Regions from separate parts of the Homo sapiens genome. Here region 1 is linked to region 2. Evidence: promoter capture Hi-C in 16 types of primary human blood cells and fetal thymus (Javierre and others, 2016). All regions are on one chromosome and are shown on one strand. Each heading gives the region's core, a stretch centred on a gene start or on the middle of the fragment in contact. The rest is flanking DNA. Distances are from core to core; before and after follow the strand shown. Region 1 has its middle 2.8 kb from the start of EXOC4. Region 2 holds the start of LRGUK (leucine rich repeats and guanylate kinase domain containing).

The links. The method cuts DNA at HindIII sites, captures the fragments that hold promoters and counts their contacts. A CHiCAGO score of 5 or more calls a contact.
Region 1: a fragment that was not itself captured here is called in contact with the fragment with the promoter of LRGUK in region 2 in 8 of 17 cell types (fetal thymus, total B cells, monocytes and 5 more); the score reaches 11.7 in fetal thymus.

What each region holds. Positions count from the first base shown.
Region 1 is chr7:133,247,619-133,252,842 of GRCh38, forward strand. No RefSeq gene overlaps it. Among named protein-coding and RNA genes, the nearest start is that of EXOC4, 2.8 kb to the right of the region's middle. The HindIII fragment of the contact is 4,060 bases long and covers 1-3,406 here.
Region 2 is chr7:134,126,021-134,128,589 of GRCh38, forward strand. LRGUK (leucine rich repeats and guanylate kinase domain containing) reads left to right here and starts at 1,320. Exons shown (of 20, transcript NM_144648.3): 1 at 1,320-1,644. The coding sequence starts at 1,348. RefSeq lists enhancers at 1,173-1,222, 1,333-1,602. The HindIII fragment of the contact is 1,507 bases long and covers 230-1,736 here.

The DNA.
Region 1 (5,224 bases), core at 127-2,626, 880 kb before region 2:
GGCAGGAGAATCACTTGAACTTGGGAGGTGAAGGTTGCAGTGAGTCGAGATCGCGTCACTCCAGCCTGGGCAACAAGAGCAGAACTCCGTCTGAAAAAAATAAAATAAAATAAATTAATTAATTTGGGTGTGCTAATTTATTTATCACTTAATTGTATTTCCATTTTGTGATGAAAGTAGGCCATTGTTTCTGACACTTATCCAATTCTCCTTTAAAGGAAGTACTTTTGTGTATTTCTGCTTATAAAAAGCAACACCTGGAAATTTTTTTTTTTTTTTTTTTTTTTTTTAGATGGAGTCTCCTTCTGTCACCCAGGCTGGAGTGCAGTGGCACAATCTTGGCTGACTGCAACATCCGCCTCCCTGGTTCAAGCAATTCTCCTGCCTCAGCCCCCAGAGCAGCTGGGATTACAGGAGCTTGCCAACACGCCCCACTAGTTTTTATGTTTTTAGTAGAGACGGGGTTTTGCCATGTTGGCCAGGCTGGTCTCGAACTCCTAACCTCAGGTGATCCACCTGCCTCGGCCTCCCAAAGTGCTGGGATTACAGGCATGAGCCACTGTGCCCATCCCGGAAACTTTGTAAAACACAGAAAAGTGTAAAAAAAAAAAAAAAAATTACCCATGTTATTGACGCTCAAAACAACTTTGCAATAACCCCAGAGATGTATTTTCAACAAAATTAGTACCATACTTTAGTAATAATAGCTGATATTTACCAAGTGCTGATAATGTATATCTCACATATTCTTACAATAACTCTCTATGTGAAGTACAATGACCACCTGCTTTACAGATAAAGAAACTGAGGCAGAGTAAAGTTAAGTAACTTGTCCTAGGTAATCTAGCCAGGAAGTGGAAAGCTGGGATTGAATCTAGGCCATCCTGCTACACAAACTGCATTTTTTTTTAAGGTGTGGTGAAAAACACATAACATAAAATTTATGACTTTTGACTACTTTAAAGTTTATAATTTACTGACCTTTAATACATTCACAAGCTATGCAACCATTGACTGTAGTTCCAGAACATTTCATCACTCCAAAATGAAACTCTGTATCCATTGAGCAGTCATTCCTCATTTCTTCCTGCCCTGCAGCCCTTGGCAACCACTGATCTGCTTTCTGTCTCTATGAATTTGTCTGTTCTGGATATTTCAGATAAATGGGGTTATACACAATATGGCCTTTTGTGTCTGGCTTTTTTCTGTTAGCATGATTTCAAGATTTATCAATATTGTAGCATATATCAGTACTTTTTTCATTTTTATGTGTGAATAATATTACATTGTATGGATATAGCACATTTTGTTTATACCACACTGATACAGTCATATTGTTGCAGTTCATTCATTGTTAAACATTTGGACTGCTTCCACCTTTAGGCTATTTTGAATGGTGCTTTTATGAATGTTTGTATACAAGTTATTTTCCGAACACTTGTTTTCAATTCTCTTGTGCATATACCTATGAGCGGAATTGCTGGGTCATATGGTAACTTTATGTTTAGTTTTTTAAGGAACCACCAAATTGTTTTCTGCAATGGCTGAACCATTTCACATTCCCAAAATAAATGTACAAGGGTTCCAGTTTCTCCACATACTTGCCAACATTTATTTTCCATTAAAAAAATTGTAACCAACCTAGTGGGTGTGAAGTGGTATCTCATTATGGTTTTGCATTTTCCTATAATGATTAATGATGTCGAGCATCTTTTTATGTGCTTTTTGGCCATTTGTGTATCTTCTTTGGAGAAATGTCTATTCACATCCATTGCCTAGGTTTTAATTTTTATTTCCTTTTGTGTTGAGTTGTAAGAGTTCTTCACATAGTCTAGATACAGAACTCTTACCAGATACTGTATGTGATTTGCTTTTATTCTCTCCCATCCTGTGCCTGTCTTTTCACTTTCTTGAAAAGTGTACTTTGATGTATGAGGGTTTTTAATTTTAATAAAGCCCAATATACCTATTTTTTCTTTTGTTGCTTATGCTTTTGATGTCATAGCTAAGAATCATGAAAATTTACCCTTGTATTTTGTTCTAAGAGTTTTATCTCATATTTAGGTCTTTGATCCACTTTTAGTTAATTTTTGCATATTGTATGAGGTAGGGTCCATCTTCACTTTTTTGCTTATGCTTATCCAGTTTTCAACACCATCTATTGAGGAGACTATTCTTTCCTTATTGAATGGTACTGTCAGCTTTGTTGAAAATCAATTGACTGTTTGGGTGCGGTGGGTCATGCCTGTAATCCCAGCACTTTGGGAGGCTGAGGTGGGCAGATCACCTGAGGTCAGGAGTTCAAGAACAGCCTGGCCAACATGGCAAAACCCCGTGTCTACTACTTGGAAGGCTGAGGCACAAGAATTGCTTGAACCTGGGAGTCAGAGGTTACAGTGAGCTGAGATTGAGCCACTGCACTCCAGCCTGGGTGACAGAAAGAGACTTCGTCTAAAAAAAAAAAAAAAGAAAATCAATTGATCATAGATGAATAGGCTTATTTCTGTATGGCTTATTCTACTATATTTATCTATGTGTTTATTTTTATGCAAGTACCATGCTATTTTGATTACTGCGGATTTTTAGTAAGTTTTGAAATCAGGAAGTGTGAGACCTCCACATTGATTTTTTTTTTTTTCCAAGATTGCTTTGGCTATTTGGGGCTCTTTTAATTTCCGTATGAATTTCAGGATCAGTTTTTCTGTTTCTGCACAAAAAGCCTAGTGAATTTTTATCGGAATTACATTGAATTTGTAGATAGCTTTGGGAGTTTGGCCATCTTAACAATATTGAGTTTTCCAACCCATGAACATGGATGTCTTTCCATTTATTTGAGTCTTCTTGTATTTCTTGCAGCAATGTTTTGTAGCTTTCAGTGTAGCAGTCTTTCACTTTCATGGCTAAGTTTATTCGTAGGCATTTTATTCTTTTTGCTGCTATTGGAAATGGAATTGTTGTGTAAATTTCCTTTTTGGATAGTTTATTGCCAGTTTACAGAAATACCACTGATTTTCTGTTGCTATTGATTTTGTATTCTGCAACTTTGCTGAATATTTTATTAGCTCTAATAGTTTTTTGTGTGTATTCTCTAGGATATTCTATATATAAGATCATATCATCCAAAAATAGATATTGTTTTATTTCTTCCTTTCCAATCTGGATGACTTATTCATGTTCTTGCCTCATTGCTCTGGCTATAACTTGCAGTACTTTGTTGAATAGAAGTGGCAAAAAAATGGTTATCCTTTTTTTGTGTCTAATATTAGTGGGAAGGCTTTCAGTTTTTCATCGACTATGATGATTGCTGTGGGTTGTTCATAAGTACCCTTTATAGCCTATAAGAAGTTCCCTTTTATCCCTAGTTTTCTGAGTGTTTTTATTGTAAGAGTGTTTTGGATTTTGACAAAGCTTTTTTCTGCAACAGTTGAGATGATCACACACTTTTTATCCTATGTCCTACATTCTTTTTTTTTTTTTTTTTTTTTTTTGAGACAGAGTCTTGCTCTGTCGCCCAGGCTGGAGTGCAGTGGCGCGATCTCGACTCACTGCAAGCTCCACCTCCCGGGTTCACGCCATTCTCCTGACTCAGGCTCCCGAGTAGCTGGGACTACAGGCGCCCGCCAACACGCCCGGCTAATTTTTTGTATTTTTTTTTAGTAGATACAGGGTTTCACCGTGTTAGCCAGGATGGTCTTGATCTCCTGACCTCGTGATCCGCCCGCCTCGGCCTCCCAAAGTGCTGGGATTACAGGCATGAGCCACCCGGCGCCCGGCCTGTCCTGCATTCTTAACCACTAGGCCCAACTGCCTCTCCCTTTCTCTATGAATTATTTAATTTTATAGCCCAGTTTTTGTACTTATACCATAAAAATCTTTTTTTTTTTTTTTTTTTTGAGACAGAGTTTCCCTCTGTTGCCCAGGCTGGCGTGCAGTGTGCAGTGGAACGATCTTGGCTCACTGCAGCCTCCGCCTTCTAGGTTCAAGCAATTCTCATGCCTCAGCCTCCCAAGCAGCTGGGATTACAGGCACACACCACCACGGTCCGGCTAACTTTTGCATTTTTAGTAGAGACGGAGTTTCACCATGTTGGCCAGGCTTGTCTTAAACTCCTGGCCTCAAGTGGTCTGCTCGGCTCTGCCTCTCAAAAAGTGTTGGGATTACAGGTGTGAGCCATCACACTTGGCCCAAAAATCTTATTTTCTTTAAAAGCCATTAAAATTATGATTTCCAGAAGCTATATGTTATTTCCTCATTTGAATGTTACATAATTTATTTAATTCTTCTGTGTTATTTAAAAAATGTCAATACTCTATATTTCTTTAGGAACAAAGTCCCTAGAACTGGAATTATTGGGCCAAAGGTTATGAATACTTTTAAGTTATCGTGTGTGTGTGTGTGTGTGTGTTATCTTCAACTAATTTTTAAAAATGTGAACTTCTACCAGCTCGATGTCTATTTAATAAAAGTAATTGATGTGTTCTGAGCTTGCTGCTCACAACTCCATGACCTCTGAGTTAGTTTGCTTTCTATTCCTTTAAGTTCTTCAATCTTTATTGCTACTGAGCAGGCCACCTCCTTCCTTACTTTTAAATTATTATTATTCTTGTTCCTCAGTCTAACCACTTTCCACGCACATTCTGGTCTTTTTTGTTTTGTTTTGTTCATTTGGTCTTATGAATTAATGACTAAGCCAACGGAACCAAATGCAGGAAATACTAAAAACTTACCGGTAAAAGTATTAACACAAATGTGCATTACTACTAAGTATTTCATTTAGCTTGAAAAAAAAAAAAAAGGAATCTGCAGTGTGGTCTGTTTGTTTTTAGCTTATACTGTCTTTTCTTCATCAATATTCATTTATTCCTGTACGTGTGGTTTTAGAACTATCTGGAAATATAGGAACATTGGGAAAAATTGAACTCCACATAAACCTAATGTAGAAACATTAGTTTTACAGAATACTAAAGAAAAGCATTTCTGCTTATATTCATTTTCGTATTTTATTGGATTTTTTAAAAAATCACTTGCACTTAAGGCAAAAACTTCGCACATAGACATCCGGCAGAGAACCCCTCTTTCATTTAAATACAAACCCTAACACATTTTGGCATCATCAGATAAATTTGATTTAAAGCCTGACAAAATTCTAAAAGCAAGGAAACTGAAAAAAGCTGGAAGTCAGAATAAAGATAAATGAAGACACTCATTACAAGACTTAGGAAGT
Region 2 (2,569 bases), core at 70-2,569:
AAAACGATCGAGATTTGCATTTTTACACTTTCTGCCTGATTCTTCCCTATGTCACTTAGCCGAAGCCAGGCCCTACGAGGGTAAGGGTGGGGAAAATTCCCTTGGAGGAATCTCTACTTATTGGAAAAAGAAATAAGCAAAAAGCAAGATGAGCCTGGCAGAAAGAGATATTTTGCTTGTGGCCTTTACATTTATGACTAGCAAGATAATGAAGGAAGGTAATTCTGAAAGCTTTATGTCAGTTTTAACGGTCCCTCAAGCACTGAGAAAGATAATCGTCAATGGATGGTGTCCATAAGGATTTTTTCTCCTTCTCCCCTGACAGCCATTGACAGGATCATTTTGTATTTGCAACTGCTGTCATTGAAGCGTGCAGAAAAGGCCCTGTAAGGCCAGAAGGATGAGGGCTACTTCCCTGCAAGGATCTCTATTGTCATCACTATGGCAATAATAGTTACTATAATTTTCATTCTGCTTTTCTATAGAGTGTCGACGTTGTGGAGCTTAAGGCTATGGGATTTGGGTCACATAAAATCACACTAGCATAAAATCGTGCTTTGTTATCTTGAAAGAGTATTTTTTTTAACTGCAAAGAGAGCCTGTGCAACAAGATTAAAATAATTGCCAATGCAGGTCACTTGACTAATATAATTATTTATGGGATGCTAATAGCTTTTCAGACGCTTTCAGATACAGTGTCAATTTGACAGCAGTTTTTTCTCTCTCTGTTTGGATTGTAAGACCACTGCCAGTTTTTCTCCCCAAGGACAAGGCTTATCATTGGGGGGTGGGGGTGGGGAATGTAAATTAATTGGAAATCAGCTCTCAGGCGTCGTCTGGTAGTTTCTCTTTATTATCTGCAATTAAATCATAAGGACAGGAACCATGCCTTCTATTTCACTTATATGCACCCTCATCTCCTAGCGTCGCGCTTTGCATAAATTTCAGTGGTACTAGCTTTCCTACAGACTGCTTTAGAGACATTAGACACTTCTAAAGTACGACTCTGCGGAAAGAGCCCTTTGGGAATGAAGCGGCAACGGTGGCGCACCTGCGATCCTATCGTGGGATGACAAAGCTCTAAGAGGGGTCTCAGGGTAGGGAGGAAACAGCTGGAGACAAAGAAAGGGGGTGTAGCGAAAAGAGGTGAAAACAGGAAAGATAAGCGAACAGAACAGACCAAAGAGAGAAAAATAACAGAAGAGACTGAGAAAAAGAAAAGTCAAGTGGAGCGCCCACTGCCCCGCCTGCAGAAGGCGAGTACGCGCGGAGGAGACTACAGGCCCCAGAATCCTCCGCGGTTCCCCTTGCCTGGGGTCAGTCTCCTAGGCAACCCCGCTAAACAAGATGGCGACCTCCGAGAGGGCTCTCCTGAGGACCAGAGCTGCCTCTCTCCTGAGAGGCTTGGGCAGATCCCGAACTGGAGCCCGATCGTTACAGTTTCGCGCAGAAAAAGAGCGTCAGCCTTGCTGGTCTTTTCCCATGGGGCAGAAGACGAAAGGCAGCTCTAACATAGCCTCCTCCTACCTGCTCCAGCAGCTCATGCACCGCTATCAGGAGCTGGACTCGGACGGAGATGAGGACCAGGGCGAGGGCGAGGCGGGATCCGAGGAGTCCTCAGAGTCCGAAATGCTGAATTTGGAGGTGTGTCTTCCCCCCCACCCCGTACTCCCTGGCTCCCTCGTCCAGCCCTGTTACTTCAGCGGCAGCTCCCCGATGCACCCCCACCAGCCCGAAGCTTCCCACACCTTCTCAGGCTCTCTCGCCTCCAGGAACGCCTCTTCCCCCTCTTTTCTTCCCCTGTCTTTTACCCCGTTTTCTCACCCCCTGCCTGAAATAGCTCTAAATAGTTCCTTTCTTTTTTCATTAACACATTTGATTTCTTATGAGTCGAGTTAACACAGCGTCACTTTGTAAGAGTGTCTAGATAATTGTCTGGGAATTATGGCTTTAGCTTTTTCAAAATTATACTTTGACAGTATTGTGAATAGGCAGAGTTCATCTCTGACATTGCCAGCACCTGTTGCCCATGGCTATGACATACTTCCACACTCTTCCTCAGTTCTAGTCCCGTCAGCCTCCCTCCAGGAAAAAAAAAAAAAAAAAAATCCGCTTTTGAAAGTGCTTCTTCAAAGACTAAGTGACTTAAAAGTTGAATACATTACTTCTGTCGGGGGCATATGCCTTATACAAGCAACATGCACACACACCAGAAAAGAGCCTTATAATGTTCGAACAGCCAGCTCATTGTGGGAATATTTTAGGATGTGGGGAATGTTCCCATCATCCCACCCATATTGACTGGGATGGCGGCTTCGCGTTTCACATGACTGCCATTCCCTCCTTTCTACAATATCTCTTCTGACCACCACACAATTCCTCTTCTTTCTTATGCTTATTATGGTCCTTTTCCTTTCTTAGTCCATTGTTGTCTTCTTGTCCTTTTCCACTTCTCATCACATCACTTCTTTTCTCTTGGCTTCTAATAAATTGCTTTCTTTCAAAAGCGTAATTTAATTTGCTTCCTTTCTATTTTGTTTATGTTTTTGAGATGGAGTCTGGCTTTGTC